2 separate regions of the Homo sapiens genome follow, and region 2 is linked to region 1. The links are contacts of gene promoters, found by promoter capture Hi-C in blood cells and fetal thymus (Javierre and others, 2016). All regions are on one chromosome and are shown on one strand. The core of a region is centred on a gene start or on the middle of the fragment in contact, and the rest is flanking DNA. Distances in the headings are between cores, read along the strand shown. Region 1 holds the start of RASGRP4 (RAS guanyl releasing protein 4). Region 2 has its middle 12 kb from the start of ACP7.

Region 1 (3,160 bases), core at 405-2,904:
GTGCACGACCATACCCAGCTAATTTTGTGTGTGTGTTTGGGTGTGTGTCAATGGGGGGGGGGGTCTCACTATATTTCTCAGGCTGGTCTAGAACTCCTGGCTTCAAGTTCTCCTTGTCTTATCCTCCCAAAGTGCTGGGATTAGAGGCATGAGCCATCGTTACTAGAAGGGACATTTTAAAGTATTATATATGTCCTAGGCTAAGGAAGGAGCATTCTAACTAAGTCAGCATTTCCCTAAGTGTGGGCACCCAGCTAGTACCAAAAGCATCACCTGGGAACTGGATATCAATACAGATTCTCAGGTCCCAACCCAGACCTACAAAATCAAACACTTTAAGGCTAAGGGTGGTGGCTCATGCCTCTAATCCCAGCACTTTGGGAGGCCGAGGTGGGTGGATCACGAGGTCAAGAGATCGAGACCATCCTGCCCAACATGGTGAAACCCCATCTCTACTAAAAATACAAAAAAGTAGCTGGGTGTGGTGGTGCACACCTGTAGTCCCAGCTACTTGGGAGGCTGAGGCAGGATGATCGCTTGAACCCGGGAGGCAGAGGTTGCAGTGAGCCAAGATTGTGCCACTGCACTCCAGCCTGGCGGCAGAGCGAGACTCCGTCTCAAAAAAAAAAAACAAAAAAAAAAAAACCAAACACTTTAAAGGTAAGCCCAGCAACCTGTATTTTACAAGCCCTCCAGACAGTTCTGAGGCTCGCTCCAGTTTGAGAACCACTGGTCTAGAGTGTCTCATTGAGTACTTACAGGCCTCTCCGAGGTAGAGGATATGATTGTTCTACTGACAGAAGAAAAACCCGAGACACAGAGCAGTTAAGTGACTTACCTAAGGTCACACAGCTAGGAAATTAGGCAGCCAGGAGTCTACCACTAAACTGCTGGGTGGGGAGGAAAGCCCTTTGCCCATCAGAGTGGTGCTGGGGGTGGCAGGAGGAGTTACCCAGGCTAGGGAGCCACCCACCATCTGCCTCTGTGGGGACAGAAGGGCCAGCTTGCCCAGGAGATGAAGCCCATTCCAGAACCGGCCGCACAGCCAGCCACTAGGCCCTGTCCTGCAGCCCCCTGTAGGGGTCTGGAACAGCCAGGAGTGGTTTAAGAGGCAGGGGAGTCGCCTTGCCCTGTGCCACACTCCCCTCTCCTGGGCCAGGCCCTGCAGGAGCCTGGAGTTTCCAGTCCACGGGGATGGGGAACCAGGAAGCCCCCAGGGAGGGCAGAGACACTCAGCCCAGGCCAGGGATGGAGGTGGGGTGATGAGGAGTGGAAAAGGGGCACGGAGCAGCTCAAACTCCAGGGACAACACGGTACAGATGCCACATACAAGCGACTGCAGCCGTAGCTGGCTCCAGACTCCCTGAAGCATCCACCTGGCCCCCCTGCGCCTGATCCCAAAGAAGTCAGGAATCCTGCCACCCTGGCGAGTGATCTCCCCAGCCCTCCCATGCAGAGGGAGGCCTCAGGGTGCTGCCGGGCTCCCTGGGGAGGGTCCTCTCACCTCTTACTGTCTTTTCTGTTCATGCTTCCCGCGTGGGGTGAGGAGGCCGGGGGTCTTGCAAGAGTAGGGCTCAGCTCCTCCCCTTGCCCAGGACTCCAGCTTCTCAGCCCCTAGGGAGCTGGGGCCTCCTCGGTGCTTGGGAAGGAAAGAGGAACTGCCCCTCCCCACCCACCCTCAGGCCAGGGGGAAGGAAGAGGCTGGGGAGAGACCGAAGGCCCCCCTCCCCCACACGGGGATCCCTTCTGCTGAGGTTTCCGGCATCGCTGGCTCTCCCACCCTCAAGCTCCCCGGCGGGCTCTCTATCTCCCCCATCTTTCGGTGTCGAGACCCGTCACTGTCATACTTCAATAAAAGAAGGGGCTTTTCTTTTTAAAGCATGACTGATATTTATGTAAAAACACACACACTCACTCAAAAAGATAAGTCTGTCTGTCTAGAAGGACATATTCATATATATAATTCATGAAGGTTTGAATGGAAACTCACAAGACATAGTATTTTGTATATTTCTTCATAGGCGTCTCTTATTCCTAGTTTAAGTGATACCATTTGTACCCTGGAAAACATTTTCACTTTCTGACTTTATTGTAACAAACCTCCACATAGCACCTACTGTGTACCACACACTGCTGTAAGGACTTTAAAAATATTAACTCATTTAATCCTCACACAATCCACTGTTACCTTAAAAAAAATTACATACCGGACCAGGCACGGGGGCTCACAGGGGCTCACGCCTGTCATCCAGCACTTTGGGAGGCCAAGGCAGGCGGATCGCTTGAGTCTAAGAGTTTGAGACCAGCTTGAACAACGTGACAAAACCCCGTCTCTACAAAAAATGTAAAACGTTAGGCCGGTGTGGTGGCTCACTCCTGCAATCCCAGCACTTTGGGAGGCCGAGGTGGGCGGATCACCTGAGGTTGGGAGTTTAAGACCAGCCTGAGCAACATGGAGAAACCCCGTCTCTACTAAAAATACAAAATTAGCCAGGCGTTGTGGCACATGCCTGTAATCCCAGCTACTCGGCAGGCTGAGGCAGGAGAATTGCTTGAACCCAGGAGGCGGAGGTTGCCGTGAGCCGAGATCGCGCCATTGCACTCCAGCCTGGGCAACAGGAGCGAAACTCTGTCTCAAAAAAAAAAAGTTAGCTGAGCGTAGTGATGCACACTTGTAGTCCCAGCTACTCAGGAGGCTGAGGCTAGAAGATTGCTTGAGCCCAAGGAGGTCGAGGCTGCAGTGAACCATGATGGTGCCACTGCACTTCAGTCTGCGTGGCAGAGCCAGACCCTGTCTCAAAAAACAAAAAACAAAAAAAAAAAACACACACACACATCAAAAAACATTAGAGATGGAGGTAAAGCCTTGGGGAAGCCCCTCCCCATCCCCTGCCTTTCTTAAGCAGGGTGTGACCAATATGACACGTTGTCGAGTTTCGTCCAAACTGCTGTCTGTGCGTTTAAGCACATCATATAAACATGTGCTCCTAGAAACAGACTTTTCTTTTGAGTGTGCATTTTTTTCTTTTTACCTAAATGTGTCATGCTCGACACTTTTTTTTAAATTGAAGTACAAAAAAGATCACGAATCATTAAGTATTTAGGTTGATGAAATGTCACCAACTGAGCAAACCTGTGTGACATTCATACAAATCCAGAC
Region 2 (3,112 bases), core at 275-2,774, 650 kb after region 1:
GAGGAGAGTATGGCTGGGTGAACATGAACCACATTCTTCCTTTCTTTTTAACCAGAGACAGGGTCTCACTACATCACCCAAGCTGCTCTTGAACTCCTGGGCTCAAGAGATCCTCCCACCTCAGCCTCCCAAAGTGCTGGGAGCCACCACACCCGGCTCACATTCCTGTCTATACTTGACTTGCCTTGACCATGGCAGAGAGCCTGTTCTCCCTGCGAGACCTGCCATGGACCATGGCAGAGAGCCTGTTCTCCCTGAGTGACCTGCCATGGACCCAGGGGTATACTCGTTTCCCTCTAGTAACTGTGCTGCTGGGCCCACGCCTGAGAGCCTGTGGAGGGCTGGGGTGTTCCTGGAGGTAGGATACACAGAGCTGACCACACTCCTGCTGACCATGCACAGCGTGACCCACGCTTCAGCCCTGACAGATCCCCCAGTTGGTGGTGAGTCATGTGCCCTCTAGGACTCAACTCCTGTTCTCACCCACTGAACTCACGAGGAAGGATTAGTGTAGACCCTCAGGGAAGATCACACCAGATTTGATCTTGATATGACCCAGCTCATCCTTCACACAGCAGGGGCCAGGCTGCCCTTTCCTCACACAGAAGGATGAGCCTTGCTCTCCAGTGGGTTTTTATTTATTTATTTACAGACAGGATCTACCAAGGCTGGAGTGCAGTGGTGAGATCTTGGCTCACTGCAACCTCTGCCTCCCTCCCAGGCTCAAGTGATCCTCCCATCTCAGCTTTCTGAATAGCTGGGACCACGGGCACACACCACCACACCTGGCTAATTTTTGTATTTTTTGTAGAGACGAGGTTTAGCCATGTTGGCCAGGCTGGTCTCAAACTCCTGGGCTCAAGCGATCGGCCCGCCTCGGCCTCCCAAAGTGCTGGGATTACAGGCGTGAGCCACTGCGTCCAGCCTAATAAGATATTTTTTAAGGCAATTTTTTGGGGGGGACAGGGTCTTGCTCCGTTGCCCAGGCTGGAGTGCAGTGGCATGATCACAGCTCACTGCAGTCTCCTGGGATCAAGTGATCCTCTCACCTCAGCCTCCCGAGCACACCCCCGTAGGACTTTAAAATCTTCCAACACTCCTCAATGTGACTACAGTGGAAAATGGTGTACCCAACAATGGTACAATAAATAGTTGGGGCCAGGCATGGTGGCTCACACCTGTAATCCCAGCACTTTGGGAGGCCGAGGTGGGCAGATCATTTGAGGTCAGGAGTTCAAGAGCAGCCTGGCCAACATGGTAAAACCCTGTCTCTACTAAAAAAAAAAAAAAAAAAAGTCCGGGTGCAGTGGCTCACGCCTGTAATCCCAGCACTTTGGGAGGCCGAGGCAGGTGGTTCACGAGGTCAGGAGATCGAGACCATCCTGGCTAACAAGGTGAAACCCCGTCTCTACTAAAAAATACAAAAAAAAATTAGCCGGGCATGGTGGCGGGCACCTGTAGGCCCAGCTACTTGGGAGGCTGAGGCAGCAGAATGGCATGAACCCGGGAGGTGGAGCTTGCAGTGAGCCGTAATCGCGCCACTGCACTCCAGCCTGGGCAACAGAGTGAGACTCCGTCTCAAAAAACAAAAAACAAAAATTATCCAGGCATGGTGTCATGTGCCTGTATTCCCAGCTACTTGGAAGGCTGAGGCAGGAGAATCACTTGAACCCAAGTAGCAGAGGTTGCAGTGAGCCAAGATCACACCACTGTGCTCCAGCCTAGGCGACAGAGCAAGACTCTGTCAAAAAAAAAAAAATAATAATAAAATAAAAATAAATAAATAGTTGGGCCAATATTTATAAGAGCTCATGTTTGTTTGAGGGTTTAGTCTGTCCCTGGCCTCAATTCCGGATTTTATGGAACTGTTATGTCCACCTGATGATACAGTGATGCTTGGAGGCCACGTGCAGTGGCTCACGCCTATAATCCCAGCACGCTGGGAGTCCAAGGCAGGTGGATCGCTTCAGCCCAGGAGTTTGAGACCAGCCTGGTCAGCAAGGCGAGACTGTGTCTACAAAAAATTTTTAAAAATCAGGTGGGTGAGGTGGTGTGAAACTGTAGTCTCAGCTACTAGGGAGGTTGAAGTGGGAAGATCACTTGAGTCCAGGAGTTCGAGGCTGCAGTGAGCTATGATCATGACACTGCACTGCAGCCTAGGCAACAGAATGAGACCCTGTCTTAAAAAACAAAATACATGGCCAGGAAGGGTGGCTAACGCCTGTAATCCTAGCACTTTGAGAGGCCAAGACAGGTGGATCACCTGAGGTCGGGACTTCGAGACCAGCCTGACCAACATGGAGAAACTCCGTCTTGACTAAAAATGCAAAATTAGCTGGGCGTGGTGGTGCATGCCTGTAATCCCAGCTACTCAGGAGGCTGAGGCAGGAGAATTGCTTGAACCCCGGAGGCGGAGATTGCAGTGAGCCAACATTGCGCCATTGCACTCCAGCCTGGGCAACAAGAGCAAAACTTCATCTTAAAAAAAAAAAAAAGAAAAGAAAAAAAGACAAAAACAAAACCATGCTGGGAGATGACACAGGACCTGAGGCCTGAAATCCAGGATGAGATGGCAGAGGGATGAATCGGAGACAGTGGGGCCTGGTGGTTAAGGCCAAGTGTGCAGAAAGGAATGAATCTCAGGTTTTTTGTTTGTTTGTTTGTTTGTTTTTTGACACAGAGTCTTGCTCTGTTGCCCAGGCTGGAGTGCAATGGTGCAATCTCAGCTTACTGCAACTTCCACATCCCAGGTTCAAGAGATTCTCTTGTCTCAGCTTCCTGAGTAGCTGGGAACACAGGCGTCCATCACTATGCCTGGCTAATTTTTGTATTTTTAGTAGAGACAGAGTTTCACCATGTTGGCCAGGCTGGTCTCGAACTCCTGACCTCAGGCGATCCACCCGCCTTGGCCTCCCAAAGTGCTGGGATTACAGGCATGAGCCACCGCACCTGGCTTAGCTATTCTTCTTACTGACAGTGTGATGTCAGGTAAGTGAGCTCACTCCTCTGAACCTCAGTTTCCTCTTCTGTAATACAAAATGGGACCATGTGAAGTGGTGAGGAATCCATGCAATCATACACGGTTCACAGGAAGCCTCCAGTGAACTGGCTG

Evidence for each region. Contacts are between HindIII fragments. The CHiCAGO score rates a contact against its expected background, and 5 or more counts as called.
Region 2: a contact is called between a fragment that was not itself captured here and the fragment with the promoter of RASGRP4 in region 1, in 1 of 17 cell types (erythroblasts). The highest score is 6.4, in erythroblasts.

Annotation. Positions count from the first base shown.
Region 1 is chr19:38,424,565-38,427,724 of GRCh38, forward strand. RASGRP4 (RAS guanyl releasing protein 4) reads right to left here and starts at 1,655. Exons shown (of 17, transcript NM_170604.3): 1 at 1,505-1,655. The coding sequence starts at 1,527. RefSeq lists a silencer at 1,531-1,590 and an enhancer at 2,483-2,997. The HindIII fragment of the contact is 20,985 bases long and covers 1-3,160 here.
Region 2 is chr19:39,070,611-39,073,722 of GRCh38, forward strand. No RefSeq gene overlaps it. Among named protein-coding and RNA genes, the nearest start is that of ACP7, 12 kb to the right of the region's middle. RefSeq lists an enhancer at 2,837-3,112. The HindIII fragment of the contact is 4,805 bases long and covers 1-3,112 here.